6 separate regions of the Homo sapiens genome follow, and regions 1, 2, 3, 4 and 6 are each linked to region 5. Evidence: promoter capture Hi-C in 16 types of primary human blood cells and fetal thymus (Javierre and others, 2016). All regions are on one chromosome and are shown on one strand. The core of a region is centred on a gene start or on the middle of the fragment in contact, and the rest is flanking DNA. Distances in the headings are between cores, read along the strand shown. Region 1 overlaps FBXL2 (F-box and leucine rich repeat protein 2). Region 2 overlaps CNOT10 (CCR4-NOT transcription complex subunit 10). Region 3 overlaps TRIM71 (tripartite motif containing 71). Region 4 has its middle 22 kb from the start of UBP1. Region 5 holds the start of GLB1 (galactosidase beta 1). Region 6 overlaps FBXL2 (F-box and leucine rich repeat protein 2).

Region 1 (2,700 bases), core at 142-2,641, 290 kb after region 5:
CAGCTCGGAGTCTGTGTTGCCTGATTGGAAAGTAGAAGCTCTGGTGTATGCTACAGCACATAACACATTTTTACTAAAGGAAAAAAGCTAATTATGTCCATGCCTCTCGTAAAACTGGGGGGAACCTTAAAGAGAAAGAACTAAGGCTTAAGTTATCTGTAGTATAATCAATTAGAAGTAATGAATGGATGCATGTAAAATGGATGTGATTTTTTTTCAAGCTTATTTTGAAATCTTAAAAATCAGGTTACACCATAGCTACTCAAAAGTTTTACACACTTAAAACTCAGATCAGTAAGTGTTGGTACCTTTTAGACTCATAAAATTGAATAAACCATTGCAATGCTTTAAAAAAAATTAAGTCAGAGGGTTTTATTGCTATGATTTTATGGCAGACACATCCAAGCAAAACCATTTTCCAAATGCAGACCTTCCTGATGTTATCTGAAATCTGATAAAATGACCCTACTCTCTGCTGTGGTTCATTCTTGCTCCATGCTGTCCATATTTATGATCTTTATTAAGAACCTGTCAATCAGTCATCACCACCTTCATTGTAAACTTAGGTGTTCATGGTGGCTGGCCCTTCCAAACAACCACTCCCCCAAACTGAAGGGCCAGAGCTCATGAGAAACTTAAAAGTGAAACGGCAAAAGCAAGATGTGTTCCCATGACTACCAATACCTTTATTAGGCAGTTTTAGAAGTGTTTTTAAGGATATATTATGTCAGCTGCATTCTAGGAAGAGAAGCAGATTATATATATATATAATCTCCCCATAAACGGACTTAGCACAATTATCATCAGAGTAAGCATTAAAGTCATTTTATTGCCTTATGATATATTCCAGTATTCCTTGGTCTAAAAATTGTGTGGATACCATAGCAGTTAGTTAAATATACATTTATACCCACTGTTTGTTGTGGAAGAGATGATGGGGGAGGAGGACTGATGCAGGAAGCAACTTCAATAAATGAGCATATAACAGACTTGCTTCAGTGATTATGAATTAGTTTAGTTTCTATTAAAAAAAATTAACTTAAGGCTGGCCACGGTGGTTCATGCCTATAATCCCAGCACTTGGGGAGGCCAAGGCGGGTGGATCACCTGAGGTCAGGAGTTTGAGACCAGCCTGGCCAACACAGTAAAACCCCATCTCTACTGAAAATACAAAAATTAGCCGGGCGTGGTGCTGGGCACCTGTAATCTCAGCTACTCGGGAGGCTGAAGCAGGAGAAATGCTGGAACCCAGGAGGCGGAGGTGGCAGTGAGCCGAGATTGTGCCATTGCACTCCATCCAGCCCAGGAGACAACAGTGAGACTCCATCATCATCTCAAAACAAAACAAACAAACAAACAAAACAAACCACCAGAGCCTTCTATACATGATTGATTTCTTTTGAGCCAGGATACAACCTATCATCAGTCACAGCTATTGGACTTGATGCTCAATGATCCATGGCCTCATTTACAAAACAGGAGAACCTCTTGTAAGAAAATCAGGTTTGCAGGCTGGGCACGGTGGCTCACGCCTGTAATCCCAGCACTTTGGGAGGCAGAGGCGGGCGGATCGTGAGATCAGGAGATCAAGACCATCCTGGCTAACACAGTGAAACCCCGTCTCTACTAAAAATACAAAAAAAATTAGCCGGGCATAGTGGCGGGTGCCTGTAGTCCCAGCTACTCAGGAGACTGAGGCAGAAGAATGGCGTGAACCCGGGAGGCAGAGCTTGCAGTGAGCCGAGATTGCGCCACTGCACTCCAGCCTGGGTGACAGAGCCAGACTCCGTCTCAAAAAAAAAAAAAAAAAAGAAAATCAGGTTTGCTTCCTTTTAAAGTCTGGAATAGTTTAGTTAGTTAGTTAGTTAGTTAGTTAGTTAATGGAATAACAACATATCCTCAGTTGCATCAGCTTTCAGAAAATAAACTGAAAAGGAAAAAACTATGAGCCTAACCTCTTACTACATTTAGACTGGCTCAGAATACACACAGGGAAACTCCTTGATTCTATGACACGAAGTGACAGTAGCAGGAACTGGGATTTTAAATGAGACACACATTTGCAAAACAATCAGAAAACATTTATTATACTGAAATGTGTACATCCTACTATTAAAAAAACAAAGTAACAAATTTGCTGGTGCCAAAATTTATTTAGCCTGTTTCACTGGGACAAACTCACGTTCAATGCCACTCAGTATAATTTCAAGTCTGATAAGCATCTAAGTATTTTTACCCCGCTTCTAAAACCTGATGAGGAATTCAAAATAAGCACACAGCATTAAATGACATTTATTGTTCCATAAATCTTGAGACCCAAAAAGGAATGCTAAATAGACAAGCAAAACTTTTAAAACAAACGAGATAAACTCACTTCTTTCCCCAGTGACTGGTACAGAAAACATGTGGTCACACGAAAGCAAAGGGAAAAAGTCAGAAAGGAAAACTCTCTGCCTATAGGATCTATAGGAGTTACAGATATTTTCAAATCGATGATGAAAATAGATCGTGCTTCTTTGTAGCAAATAATTAACCCCCTTTATGAATAAAACATAAAATGTCAAAGCTTTTACTCACTGAAGTAGTTTGTCTTCTGGGAGAGATTTCAAACTCAAAATTACTCATTTCCTATTTTTTGCCTGAACACAATGAGGATCAAATAGTACATTCAAATCAGGACACCTGGGTATATGGACAAAG
Region 2 (2,805 bases), core at 167-2,666, 400 kb before region 5:
AACTCAATAGCAAACTAAGAATTTTTGGCATTTGGTTTAAATTATGCTTCTTTATGAGAGAAGACACATTTTTTAAAATGTTAGGTTTTATAAAATCTTTAATAATAAAAGAAACATGAAAGATATTTATATTCTTTGTTAAAGTTTTATGGTGACAATATGTGGATTGAGGATCCTGTTTCAATCTAAACTTATAACTTGCCTTCTGAGGTCCTAAAGTCCTGTGTCACATTTTTACACGTTTTAAAATAATTGGTCCTTACCTCTTTTGTGCACCTGACAGTTCTGCAAAACACATGTATTGGATAAACAGTATGTTCTTGCAGTGAAACTCATTGTTATTGGCTTTCCAAAGAAAAAACTGTTTAACATTGTCCTTTGAAACTGGCAAACTTTATTCACTTAACTCTTAGCTTTTCCTCCTCCCTGTCGTATGCTAAAGTGGAAATAAAATAACTACTTGACCTGCTAACTTTAATTATCACAAGTAACACTTTTTAATAAGCCCAAATACTGGAATGCCTTTTTTATACAGCAGATAAGTTCTTAGATGAGTTTTTTTAAGTACAAGTTATACAGTATTACGTTGTTATAAGTGGTGACTCTCAAAAGGGTGTTCAGTCTTCTGGGGGTTTCGTAGTGATCTAAAGAGCTGTTTCATAGTCAAGTCACATGAAATTGAATTTTACTGTTAATTTTTATGTTTAAATTACAGACATAAATATATTTTTAAAAATATAAGTACAAGAATTTTTAGTTCTGGTGAAAGGAAAGTGGGGAAGGGAGCTATATTTATTTAGCATCTCTAATTAAAAACAGGCCAAAGGACGACTGGACTGAAGATGTGACTGATTCTAAGACTTGTGCTCTTTTAATTATGTCATATTGCCTTCTTGGAAAAGGGAAGTTGGGAATCTTCACTGACTGCTGACATGTGCCAGGCTAGGACTTCCCAAAGTTAGTTCTGTTGACAACTGGTTCTTTTATTTTTAGTTTATTAAGATGGGGTCTTACTCTGCTGCCCAGGCTGGAGTGCTTTGGCACAATCTCAGCTCACTGCACACTCCACCTCCTGTGTTCAAGCAATCCTCCCACCTTCGCCTCGCTTGTAGCTGGGACTACAGATGCATGCCACCATGCCCAGCTAATTTTTGTATTTTTTGTAGAGACGGGGTTTCACCATGCTGCCCAGACTGGTCTTGAACTCCTGGGCTCAAGTGATCCACCCGCGTTGGCCTCCCAAAATGCTGGAACTACAGGTGTGAGCCACCACACCTGGCCAACAACTGGTTCTTTGAGATGCTCCTGTTGTCTAGGCAGTTATCAAAAAGTGCCCAGATCATAAGTGCACATACAGTTTGGTGAATAGTTTGCTGTGTATCCTTGTAGACTTTATACTTATTCAGAGGTACATATTTGTGTATATATTTTTATAAAACATGGGATTCAGTTGTACAAAGCAGTTTGCAATCTGTTTCTTTTATTTAACAACATGTTGTAAATATTTTTCCACATCAAGTTATATAGACTTAATAACTGTTAATGTGCCATTGTATTCCTATACCATGATTTAGTTATCAAATCTCTTGAAGAATATTTATTTCTAGACATTTAGTATTATCGTTTTAATTTACAATTATTTAATAAATAATGAGGCTGAATTTCATTTCACGTTATTAAGCCATTCATATTTACTCTTCTTTCAGCAAGTTTCTGGTGTTTGAGGAACACTGTGAAGGACTGTGGCAGGGTTCTTGAAGATAAGGGAGTTTGTTTATCTAGGCAACTCCTGGAAGCCATTATAGAGGGAGTCACACTTCCCAGTATCCTGGAAGGGGGCTTGTGATGGATGAGGTGCGAAAGTGGAGGCTACTATGACAGATGCAACTCTAGGGCACCATACTGGGGGAGCATTCCACTAGCTCTAGCCCCAACTTGAGTCCATGTTGGCAGATCTATAGAAGGAGAGGGAAGAATGGAAAGGAGCCAGTAAGCAAAAGAACCCCATAACCAGTGTGATTCTTGACAACTTTCTGGAAAGTTGGTTGTAGGCACTCTTGAGGGGTAAACTTGGGGACAAGGTGGTCTACTATTTCTCATGTGGGTATTTGTCTTCCATAGAAACCTTAATTGGATATGAGTGCTGCTTTAGGAACAAACATATCAGTTTCTTTTTTTTTTTTTTTTTTGAGATGAAGTCTTGCTCTGTCACCCAGGCTGGAGTGCAGTGGCATGATCTCGGCTCACTGCAACCTCTGCCTCCCAGGTTCAAGTGATTCTTCTGCTCCAGCCTCCCAAGTAGCTGAGACTGCAGGCATGCACCACCATGCCCGGCTAATTTTTGTGTTTTTAGTAGAGATGGGGTTTTACCATGTTGTCCAGGCTGGTCTTGAACTCCTGACCTCAGGTGATCCGCCTGCCTCGGCCTCCCAAAGTGCTGGGATTACAGGCGTGAGCCACTGCGCCCGGCCTCAGTTTCTTTATAGAAGCATGTTTGGAGTTACTGAATCTGAGTTGGAAGGGATGCTAAAAACTATTTAATACAGACTCTCATTTTAGTAAATAGGGAAGCTGAAACTTGCCCCAGTTCCACTTTGTAGCATCTGTTTAATTTCAGAAGTGACATTAAAGTTTTAGTCTTATTTCAATTCTAAAAATTGTCTGTACGTCACTGTGCAACCTGCCTCCCGTCTGTATGTTGAAAATGATAGAATCTGCACTATTGTGCTACATATCAGGGGTTTACTCTGCCAGGTACATGCCAATTGCTTCACATATATTCTTACTAAAGCCTTACAATAACTT
Region 3 (2,730 bases), core at 171-2,670, 270 kb before region 5:
GGCTAATTAAAAAAAATTCTTTTTGTAGAGACTGGGTTGCACCATGTTGCCCAGGCTTGTGTCTGACCCTTGGGCTCAAGCCACCCTCCTGCCTGTCCTCCCAAAGTGCTGGGATTACAGGCGTGAGCCACCTCATCTGGCCCCAATTTACATTTTATATGACATGTTTGAAAACCACTAATTTTTCTTATAATTTTTTTGTAGAGACAGGGTTCTCACTTTGTTGCCCAGTTCACTGATCTTGAACTCTTGGCCTCAAGTGATAGCAATCCTCCTATGTCAGTCTCCTAGAGTACTGGGGTTACAGGCATGAGCCACTGTCCCCCACTAGAAAGCACTAATTTTTTTTTTTTTTGACACGGACTTTCCCTCTGTCGCCCAGGCTGGAGTGCAGTGATGTGATCTCGGCTCACTGCAACCTCCGCTTCCCAGGTTCAAGCAATTCTTCTGCCTCAGCCTCCTGAGTAGCTGGGAGTACAGGAGTGCACCGCCATGCCTGGATAATTTTCTTTTTTTCTTTTTTCTTTTCTTTTTTTTTTTTTTTTGAGATGGAGTTTTGCTCTTGTTGCCCAGGCTGGAGTGGAATGGCACGATCTTGGCTCACTGCAACCTCCACCTCTCAGGTTCAAGTGATTCTCCTGCCTCAGCCTCCCGAGTAGCTGGGATTACAGGCATGAGCCACCACACCCAACTAATTTTGTATTTTCAGTAGAGAGGGGGTTTCTCTGTGTTGGTCAGGCTGGTCTCAAACTCCAACCTCAGGTGATCTGCCTGTCTCCCAAAGTGCTGGGATTACAGGCGTGAGCCACGATGCCCTGCTGTCACCACTAATCTTTAAAGCCAAGATATTGTGTGGGGGCTGGGGAGAGGAAGGGAAACTGTGGCATATCAAGGAAGCAGATCAACTTGCTCAATGGAACAGTCTAATCTCAGCAACTAGAATATTTAGTAAGCATTAATGTCATGGTATTGTGTGTGTGTGTGTGTGTGTGTGTTTGTGTGTGCGTGTGTGTGCATTGGAGGAGGCATCTGAAGAGGAATCAAATCACAAGAAAGGCCTTAAGTCTTCATAGAAGAAGCTTCTCCATTACAAATGGGAATGCTGAGGCCTGGTTATGAAATGACTTCATCAGAAACTGTCCTGACTCCTAGTCTAGCACTCTTTCCACATTGCTATTTATGTGACAGTAACATGTGTTATTGACAAGTGTAGCTTTTTGAAATTAACCCTTAAAAATCTGCTTAATACTAAATTTACTGCCTGAATTTTTTTTTTTTTTTTTTTTTTTCGAGATGGAGTCTTGCTCTGTCGCCCAGGCTGGAGTACAGTTGGCATTATCTTGGCTCACTGCAACCTCTGCCTCCTGGGTTCCAGCATTCTCCTGCCTCCCCGGGTATATGGGACTATAGGTACATGCCACCGTGCCCGGGTAATTTTGTATTTTTAGTAGAGATGGGGTTTCACCATGTTAGCCAGGCTGGTCTTGAACTCCTGACCTCAGGTGATCCGCCTGTCTTGGCCTCCCAAAATGCTGGGATTACAGGTGTGAGCCACCGTGTCCAGCCTCTAAATGTTTTTGTTTTTTGTATTTTATCTTCCTGCTTTGACCTTTTCTAAGTCATTAAGGAGAACGTTAAAAAGCATAAATGGGCTCTGGTCTCTTAGCCAAAAACTGAGTATAACCATCTTGCAAAAAACCGCCTGTCATTCCAAAATTCATTTAATAGTAAGTATTACCAGAACGATAATTTAGCAAGGGAGAAAGCTTTGAGTTTTGTTAATCTCTTGAAATGATAACTCCATCTCACAGTATCAGGGTGAGGTGCATCCTCTGGGCATATTCTATTCCAGATTGCCGGGAATGGAGCTCATCTCCTGCTCCTGTCCCCATACCCTCTCACCCTGGCCCCAACACCTCAGAGCAATTTGGCATTGATGGATTGGGGATTTTTACACTAAGTCTGGCCTCTGTCGATATCAGTGGATTTAAGGACCAATTCCAGCTTTTGCCTGATTGTCAACTTCCAATGAGTTATGCAAGTTGGGTTTGACCCTCAGAAGATGCCCAAAGTCTGCCTTCATTCCTTTGCAGAAACAAAGGACACTTCTTAGTTTTCAAGCCATAGAATGCCTCCCCCTGCCCCAAATGTTGAGGGTTTTTTTTATTTGTTTTGATGTTTGTTTGTTTTTTTGCTGGAACTGGAGTGCAGTGGTGCAATCTAGGCTCACTGCAACCTCTACCTCCTGGGTTCAAGCGATTCTCGTGCCTCAGCCTCCCCAGTAGCTGGGATTACAGGCGCCCGCCACCACGCCTAGCTAATTGTGATATTTTTTAGCAGAGACTAGGTTTCACCATGTTGGCCAGGCTGGTCTCAGGTAATCCGCCTACCTCGGCCTCCCAAAGTGTTGGGATTACAGGCGTGAGCCACTGTGCCTGCCTGCAAGTGTTGAGTTTTGATGGATTTTTCCCCACGTTATATAGATGGGGGTGGGGGACCGTGGGGGATTTTGGAGATGAAAGGGGAAGAGTGGCTTGAAAAATGCTCTCAGCTTCTTGGTATAGGTAAGACCATGAGCTACAGAGTAACAACTGGATTTAAGTCCTAGTGTTGCCCTATGTGACCTTGGACAAGTCACTTAACTGACTTGATTTCTGACCGTTAAGATGGGAGTGATAGAGGTGGCTACATCTTCCAGACCTATTTGTGGGGAGCTCTTTCACATGAAGG
Region 4 (2,700 bases), core at 180-2,679, 370 kb after region 5:
TAATGTAAAATCCAGTGAGCTGTTTTAATTATGCACTAGCATCAACAAAGTTTGACTCCTTCCTGCATAGTTAAGGGCGTGATTAATTCCATATGTACCTAGGCCTTAGCAATTGTAAAGCAGGCAAATCAAACAGTTCTCGAAAGCCAAAGAAGCAGTTTATAACCTTAAAACATATAGCAAACCTAGTATCTGATCTGCAGAATTTAGATCACCTATTTACATTTTGATGACAGTTGCATTTTACCAGTAATCTTTAAGACTGTTTTTATTTCTCAAAGATTAAAGTCATGTGAAGTAAAAACCTTCACAGCTTTTACTTCTCCTTCAAAAAAAATTTTATTTAAGTGCTTATTTTTCTTTTCTTTTCTTTTCTTTTTTTTTTTGAGACAGAGTCTTGCTCTGTTGCCCAGGCTGGAGGGCAGTGGCATGATCTCGGCTCACTGCAAGCTCCGCCTCCCAGGTTCACACCATTCTCCTGCCTCAGCCTCCTGAGTAGCTGGGACTACAGGCGCCCGCCACCCCGCCTGGCTAATTTTTTGTATTTTTTTAGTAGAGATGGGGTTTCACCGTGTTAGCCAGGATGGTCTTAATCTCCTGACCTCGTGATCCGCCCGCCTCGGCCTCCCAAAGTGCTGGGATTACAGGCGTGAGCCACCGCGCCCAGCTTATTTTTCTTTTTTCTTTTTCTTTTCTTTTTTTTTTTTTTTTGAGATGGAGTCTCGCTGTGTTGCCCTGGCTGGAGTGCAGTGGTGTGATCTCGGCTCACTGCAAGCTCCACCTCCTGGGTTCATGCCATTCTCCTGCCTCAGCCTCCCAAGTAGCTGGGACTACAGGCACCTGCCACCACACCCAGCTAATTTTTTTGTATTTTTAGTAGAGATGGGGTTTCACCATGTTAGCCAGGATGGTCTTGATCTCCTGGCCTCATGAACCGCCCACCTCAGCCTCCCAAAGTCCTGGGATTACAGGCATGAGCCACCATGCCTGACCATAAGTGCTTATTTTTCTTTAGGCCAATTAACTAGTTCTTTTTTTTTTCCTTCTTCTTTTTTGAGACAGAGTCTTGCTCTTGTTGCCCAGGCTGGAGTGCAATAGCGTGATCTTGGCTAACTGCAACCTCCACCTCCTGGGTTCAAGTGATTCTCCAGCCTCAGCCTCCTGAGTAGCTAGGATTACAGGTGCCCACCACCACACCCAGCTACGTTTTGTATTTTTAGTAGAGATGGGGTTTCACCATGTTGGCCAGGCTGGTCTCAAACTCCTGATCTCAGGTGTTCCACTCACCTCAGCTTTCCAAAGTACTGGGATTACAGGCATGAGCCACTGGGCCCAGCCTAGGGCTCTTTTATGTAAACTTCACACACATATAACACATACATAACTACACAAACAGACAGTAAAAGATCCAGTAATTGTAAGATTTTTTATTTGCCATTCTCCTAATTGGATTATTGGCCTCAGGGTGGAGCCTTTTAAGAGATAGTCTAGGAAACCATGCAGTTTCTAAGGCTTAATAATCAGGTATAGCTGGAAGACAAAAAATAGATTTTGAGAGGGACCTATCAACTTCTAATTCCTGGAGTTCCATGAGGAAAACAGAGGTTTCACCCAAAATGGAATCAGTGGCGCCTTTTCTGTTTTTCCCAAGAAGTCCCAGGCCATCTGAAATTATAACTTAGGGCCTCTCATGCATGCATTAAGAGTGCCAAGACAAAATGGAGAAAAAGAATTCAATCGACTGAGAAGAAAAAAAAACTTTTTCTAGAAAAACAAGATCCAGAAAGAGAAAAACATAAAGCCCTTTTAAATGTACCTATAGCTTGGATATCCACTTTTAATTAAGCTAAGCACTTTTTAAGAAAATCCTTTTGAGGACTAAACTCTGATTTTTTTTATCTTGCCCAAATTCCTATCTAATGAGTCTGGGGAGTCATGCCCTACAAATAATAAATTCTCATCAGATGGGTTTTATTTGACTGTATATATTGTTACTTGCTTTCCAACCTGACTCTGGCATAACATTATGAGACAAGGAAGAAAATCAAAATATTTTACCCAAAACATGTTTCTTTGCTATATCGTGAAATGGCCCTGCAAAGCTGTGCTTTGTGGGGGAAATTTTGCATCTGTAAAGAATCTCTATTAACATAGCTAGATCTTTTATTCCAGGCCCTCCCAATCCTAAAGAAATTAACTAAAAGTCTAGCACCTTTTAAAGATCTAAATAGGAAATAATTTGTCATCTATTATCTCTAACCAGCAGCCACTATAAGACTTCAAAAGAACCTTTTGTTTGTTTGTTTGTTTTTCGAGAAGAGTTTCACTCTTGTTGCCCAAGCTGGAGTGCAATGGTGCGATGGTGCAATCTTGGCTCATTGAAACCTCCGCTTCCTGGGTTCAAGTGATTTGTCTCATGTGTCCGTGTGAAGAGACCACCAAACAGGCTTTGTGTGAGCAACATGGCTGTTTATTTCACCTGGGTGCAGGCGAGCTGAGTCTGAAAAAGGAGTCAGCAAAGGGTGGTGGGATTATCATTGGTTCTTATAGGTTTTGGGATAGGCGGTGGAGTTAAGAGCAATGTTTTGGGGGCAGGGGGTGGATCTCACAAAGTACATTCTCAAGGGTGGGGAGAATTATAAAGAAACTTCTTAAGGATGGGGGAGATTATAAAGAACCTTCTTAAGGGTGGGGGAGATT
Region 5 (2,703 bases), core at 106-2,605:
GCCCCAGTTCCACCTTCCCCAGTGGTTCTCACAGCTGGCTAGCTCTGACTCCTAAGGTCCTACGGGCCTTCTGGACAAGAAAACTCTGTCTACATACTGGGGTAGGGGAACCACAGACGGGGTGAAGAGGGAGCAGCAAATAATCTGTGCTGACTTTTTCCCAAAATGAAAACATTTTCAGCAGCTGTTTTCCAAATACTTAAGATGTTCAATCTTGGTTGTAGATAAATGTACCACTTTTCTCTGCCCTAGGCACGTTATTGAAAGCGTTATTAAAGGGTGTAACTTACAAGTCAACGGTGTCAAATGCTACCAGCTCTTACTTAAAGCATACTGCAGGCTCAGCCCACCTACACCCTGGAGGAACCAAAGTTGGTCCGCGGAACGTGCAGAGGAGCAGCTTGCAACTACCCACTCTCCTTTCCGCAGGTGTGATGCAAACCTCCCCAGGCAGCGCTTTGGAGCCCCTCAGCCAGTCGCCTCAGCTCGGACGCAGCGAGTGAAGCTGTCCTTCCTCTCCCACCAACTGTGCACGCCCCGCACCTCACCTATTCGCCTCGCCAGCCCTGCCCCGATCAACGATGGCATCCCCCGGCAGCCTGCCTATTCCCCCCCTCAACCTGGACCCCCAAACGCCGAAGGAAAACGGTCCCACAAATACAAAGAAAAACCCAAGCCAAAGGGCAGGCGACGGGGAGTGGTGAGAAAGGAACAAGATGCACGAAGAGGGAGAGCACCCAGAGGGGAAATAACCCAATGTTCCCACTGCAAGGGCCTCTCCTGACCCCATTTTTCTCCTTCCGGAGCGCTCCGCAGAGCACCAACTGGGAAAGCGAGGGCGCCCCAAACCAGAGCCGGAGGCACCCTCTAACCCGCGCAACTTGGAATCCCCTCCCGGAAAGCCAACTTAGGAAATGTTTACACGCACCTCGTCTCAACACCTCGTTACAGATGGGGAAGTGGATCCAAGCGCAAAGGGCGGCCGGAGCGGAACGCACAAGCGACCGAGCTGCCTGGAAGGACGCGCGCCCCGCCCGGCCCGCCCCCGACGGGAAGGCCGGTCCACTGCCTGCGTTCCGCCGGCCGCGAGCCTGCTGGGGGGCACTTCGGGGCTCAGGCTCCCCGCCCTGCGGGACCGCGGGTGGCTGCGACCCCAGCCCGGTTCCCCGCCAGCCTGTCCCCTAGCAATGCCTCCCCGTACCCGGGTCCCGCAGACTTACGCGCAAGCCGCGCGTAGGGCCCAGAAGCAGCAGAACCAGCAACAGAGGGAGGATGCGAACCAGGAACCCCGGCATGACCACCAGCCTCCCGGCTCTGCAGTCGGCGCCCAGGCCGGCCGCTTCGCGTCACTTGACTAAGGACCCACGGCCTGGCACCGCCCCTCGTCGGCCCAGCAGCCAGCCCTCGCGCCTGCTCAGCCCCGCGCCCCGCCCCGCTGTGGCCGAGCCGGGCGGGTGGGGGCGGCTAGGAGGCTGCGCGCCGCCGCGTGACTCCAGGATAGTACTATCTGGGTTTTGCAGGCGTCTTCCCTGGGAAGGGACCCTTTGGAACTGCAGTCCGGAGGGCCTGCTTTCAGCAGCTTGATAACGCGCCTCGGGGATTGGACATGAATCATGGTCTCCCTGTTCCCTGGCTGCCTTGAGAGAGCAGAAGAGGGAAATTGTTAATCATTAAACCTAAACGCCCTAGATGGAATCCGCGTCTCATATACGGGCTCTTTGAATAACTCTAAGCCGGGGGTTAGCAAAATGTGGTCGGTCCCTGGAGCCACTGTATCAACTCACCTGGAACTTGTTAGAATGAAAATCCTGCTCACGCCTGTAATCCCAGCACTTTGGGAGGCCGAGGCGGGCGGATCGCCTGAGGTCAGGAGTTCCAGACCAGCCTGACCAGTATGATGAAACCCCGTCTCTACTAAAAATACAAAAATTAGCCGGGCGTGGTGGCAGGCGCCTGTAATCCCAGCTACTGAGGAGGCTGAGACAGGAGAATCGCTTGAACCCGGGAGGTGGAGGTTGCAGTAAACCGAGATCGAGCCATTGCGCTCCAGCCTGGGCAATAAGAGCGAAATTCCGTATCAAAAAAAAATTTTCTTTTTTAAAATAACCTTAGTTTATGCCTTGGTGTTCCAAAAAGCCTTTTTACATTGTATAACAAAGTAGCCAAAATTCTATTTGTTCACTCCTTTCTCCTTTCCTACCGGACATGTCCTTGAGAGATTGAGAAAGTATCAGAAAGGACATTTCATTGAGAGATTGAGAAAGTATCAGTTACTGGCTTTTCTTAGGTTTTTGTTTTTTGGTTTGGGGGGTTGTTTTTTTGTTTTGTTTTTGTGTTTTTTGAGACAGGGTCTCACTCTGTCACCCAGGCTGGAGTGGGGCGCAATCACGGCTTACTGCAGCTTTGGCCTCCTGGGCTCAAGCAATTCTCCCGTCTCAGCCTACCAAGTGGCTGGGACTACAGGCGTGCGCCACCACACCCGGCTAATTTTTGTATTTTTTGTAGAGACAGGGTCTCACCACGTTTCCCAGGCAGGTCTTGAAGTTCTGGGATCAAGCAATCTACCTGCCTGGAACTCCCAAAATGCTGGAATTACAGACATGAGCCACCGTGCCTGGCTTCTTTTCATGCCTGTAGTACCAATTCCGTGTCCTTGCACTGTGAAGTCCTTTCCAAGCTCTGCAATTCTAGTTCAGTATTAAA
Region 6 (2,700 bases), core at 99-2,598, 260 kb after region 5:
CAGGCTAGTTTCTCTGTTTGGTGTTTGTTTCTGTAGGGAGCTGATAATCAGATGTGGCTAGCTGTGGGATGGTCATATGTCACAGAACACAGCTATTAGGGGCAGGAGAGCCTTTGTGTTGGGCAAGGTAGATGTGTAGATATCCTAAAATATATTGAATATGTATGTTTAAGTACACATATTTTAGCCACCAGCATTTTTCTATGTACAAAGATCCACTGAGTCTTTTTTTTTTTTTTTTTTGAGACGGAGTCTCGCTGTCGCCCAGGTTGGAGTGCAGTGGCGCTATCTCGGCTCACTGCAGGCTCCGCCTCCCGGGTTCACGCCATTCTCCTGCCTCAGCCTTTTGAGTAGCTGGGACTACAGGTGCCCGCCACCTCGCCCGGCTAATTTTTTGTATTTTTAGTAGAGATGGGGTTTCACCGTGTTAGCCAGGATGGTCTCGATCTCCTGACCTCGTGATCCGCCCACCTCGGCCTCCCAAAGTGCTGGGATTACAGGCGTGAGCCACCGCGCCCAGCCAAGATCCACTGAATCTTTTAAAGTCAGTGTAGCCCTTATTATGCTTCTATCCTTTGCTTTTCACTAGAAAATGATTGTAGCCTATATTGTAGGATGGCATCTATGCAGTCAGTATCCCATGGTACTGCATGTGGGTGCATTATTGTAGGGTACAACACTTTCATGTTTTATGATTCTACTCTTCTTCCCTGAGTCCGTGGATTTTTATCTCACCACCGATTGTTGCCTTTGAAGAATTTTGAGGAACATTATAGGTGGCTGTTCGCCATCTTAACCACTCTCCCCCTTCCACACTCAGAGGCACAGACTCTCATATTTACTTTCCAGGACTCTGAAAACTGAGGCACTACTCTTGTTCCTGACTTCAACCCTGTCCACCCTTCTTCTCACAGAAAAGCTGCCCTTTGTTTTTAGCTGTCACTCTGCAGTGCTGAGGCGCACACGGCTGTTTGCTCACATACTATGAGCAGCAGCTCCTCTCCTTGACTGCCAGAATGTCGAGGCTTCACTCAGTCCCCTGCCATGCTGGCAGCTACTGCTTCCTCTAAGGCATTACTGATGCCAACCAAGATTTTGTTTGCTTCTGTCTGCTTTTCTTCCCCCCACCTCTTCCCGCCCCATCTTTCCTATGTTCTCTGGCTCCTTGGCTTTTGCTTAGGAAAAACTGATCACTTATAGACTTTGCCAACTAATGAGCTCCATCTTTCTGCCAGGCAAACAAATACTTCAAACCAAATGGGCTTTGTCATCAAGCTTTTTTTGACAGTGTTATTTGAGGCTCAGGCATCTGAGCCTGTTCAGTGCATCTACCACCAAAAGAGGGCTTATGCTAGAGAGTTGGTCTTCAAATAGAACCAGTTATGGTCTTTCCTGTGTCCATTACTTAGAACAAGGGAAATATAAGCTTAATGAGTTCTAAGGTAATTTGTATTGTGTGTCCAAAATAGCTTCTGAACATGCAAACACTTAATATTTCACTGTAGTGATGTAAAGTTATAGTGCACTTGTATATTTCAGATTGAGGAATCTTGAAAAAACTTATGTATCCAGGTGGCGGATTAGAGTTTATCTTTCAAGTTATAATTATCCTGAAATGTTAACACCATCTCGTTTTTGTGTTTTTTTCCTCTCTCTGTAGAATATTTTCCTTCTTGGATATAGTAACTTTGTGCCGATGTGCACAGATTTCCAAGGTAGAGTATTCACCAGATTTTTTAATCAATAAATATCAAGTTTTATTAGAATGAGTTTTAGTTCAAATTACTGAAAATTAAAATTTTATTATCTTTTATACTTAATATAACATAATGGTATAATTTTGCATTTGATGATTAACTTAATATACATCAAAAATAGGAGTTTGGAAATAAAGGTTAATCAAGACTTTCTTTAATAGTCTCAATAAATGTGTTTCTTTCATCCCAATCCCTCTTCCTTTACCTCCCACCTTCCAGGCTTGGAACATCTTAGCCCTGGATGGAAGCAACTGGCAAAGAATAGATCTTTTTAACTTTCAAACAGATGTAGAGGTAAGTTAGCTTTGGTTTAGACAAAAAACTTTTTAAAAATATGAGTAGCTGTTCCCCCTTTCCTGACTTTTTATTTTACTGCATTTAGATCTAATATTAAAGTGCTGAGGTAGAACAGAAAGAAGAAAAACTGGAAGGGATTTGCATACATCAAAACAAAACCCTGCTTGCATTTTAAATTGTATCAGTAACAGATTTTTTTCCCTTGTTTATGTTTATAGTCTGAATTTTACTACTCAGCTTTTTAAAGCCACACACCTGCATCATTATCACCTGGTTCAGTGCTTTAACCTTAGGAGACTTGACAAATACTTATTGATCTAGAAAATCCACCGAGAATTCTAATTCAGCATCAAAAGTGGAGAAATGGCAGAAGCAGAAGCCCAAGAGTGAGGCTGGAGATCTAAAGTGTCACCCTAGCTTGGCCACTTAAGTCATATAATCTCTCAGTATTCTGTTTTATTATCTATAAAATAAAGTAATAATTAAGTCTTATACAATTATTATATACAGAATATATAAGATTCTGATATATTTATCTGTAAATATGTAAATATCTCCATTTAAGTGTGGTAAACCTGATGAAATGAGGAAAGTTTATGTTAAAACAACTTTGATATTCAATACTAAATTTCTAACCAAAAAGAAA

Evidence for each region. Contacts are between HindIII fragments. The CHiCAGO score rates a contact against its expected background, and 5 or more counts as called.
Region 1: a fragment that was not itself captured here is called in contact with the fragment with the promoter of GLB1 in region 5 in 5 of 17 cell types (endothelial precursors, megakaryocytes, neutrophils and 2 more); the score reaches 8.0 in endothelial precursors.
Region 2: a contact is called between a fragment that was not itself captured here and the fragment with the promoter of GLB1 in region 5, in 1 of 17 cell types (erythroblasts). The highest score is 6.4, in erythroblasts.
Region 3: a contact is called between a fragment that was not itself captured here and the fragment with the promoter of GLB1 in region 5, in 1 of 17 cell types (M2 macrophages). The highest score is 5.0, in M2 macrophages.
Region 4: a fragment that was not itself captured here is called in contact with the fragment with the promoter of GLB1 in region 5 in 1 of 17 cell types (neutrophils); the score reaches 5.5 in neutrophils.
Region 6: a fragment that was not itself captured here is called in contact with the fragment with the promoter of GLB1 in region 5 in 1 of 17 cell types (endothelial precursors); the score reaches 5.8 in endothelial precursors.

The regions. Positions count from the first base shown.
Region 1 is chr3:33,386,277-33,388,976 of GRCh38, forward strand. FBXL2 (F-box and leucine rich repeat protein 2) reads left to right here. Exons shown (of 15, transcript NM_012157.5): 15 at 1-1,816. It overlaps UBP1 (upstream binding protein 1), which reads right to left. Exons shown (of 16, transcript NM_014517.5): 16 at 2,060-2,700. Among named protein-coding and RNA genes, the nearest start is that of UBP1, 53 kb to the right of the region's middle. The HindIII fragment of the contact is 2,345 bases long and covers 220-2,564 here.
Region 2 is chr3:32,697,805-32,700,609 of GRCh38, forward strand. All of the region lies in intron 1 of CNOT10 (CCR4-NOT transcription complex subunit 10), which reads left to right. Among named protein-coding and RNA genes, the nearest start is that of CNOT10, 14 kb to the left of the region's middle. The HindIII fragment of the contact is 2,857 bases long and covers 1-2,805 here.
Region 3 is chr3:32,828,657-32,831,386 of GRCh38, forward strand. The region is part of intron 1 of TRIM71 (tripartite motif containing 71); the gene reads left to right. Among named protein-coding and RNA genes, the nearest start is that of TRIM71, 12 kb to the left of the region's middle. The HindIII fragment of the contact is 687 bases long and covers 1,078-1,764 here.
Region 4 is chr3:33,461,075-33,463,774 of GRCh38, forward strand. No RefSeq gene overlaps it. Among named protein-coding and RNA genes, the nearest start is that of UBP1, 22 kb to the left of the region's middle. RefSeq lists an enhancer at 1,959-2,512. The HindIII fragment of the contact is 7,405 bases long and covers 1-2,700 here.
Region 5 is chr3:33,095,791-33,098,493 of GRCh38, forward strand. It overlaps GLB1 (galactosidase beta 1), which reads right to left and starts at 1,356. Exons shown (of 16, transcript NM_000404.4): 1 at 1,221-1,356. The coding sequence starts at 1,295. TMPPE (transmembrane protein with metallophosphoesterase domain) reads right to left here and starts at 1,356. Exons shown (of 2, transcript NM_001039770.3): 1 at 929-1,356. RefSeq lists a silencer at 944-1,553. The HindIII fragment of the contact is 8,101 bases long and covers 1-2,703 here.
Region 6 is chr3:33,357,307-33,360,006 of GRCh38, forward strand. FBXL2 (F-box and leucine rich repeat protein 2) reads left to right here. Exons shown (of 15, transcript NM_012157.5): 3 at 1,661-1,715; 4 at 1,977-2,051. Among named protein-coding and RNA genes, the nearest start is that of FBXL2, 81 kb to the left of the region's middle. The HindIII fragment of the contact is 151 bases long and covers 1,274-1,424 here.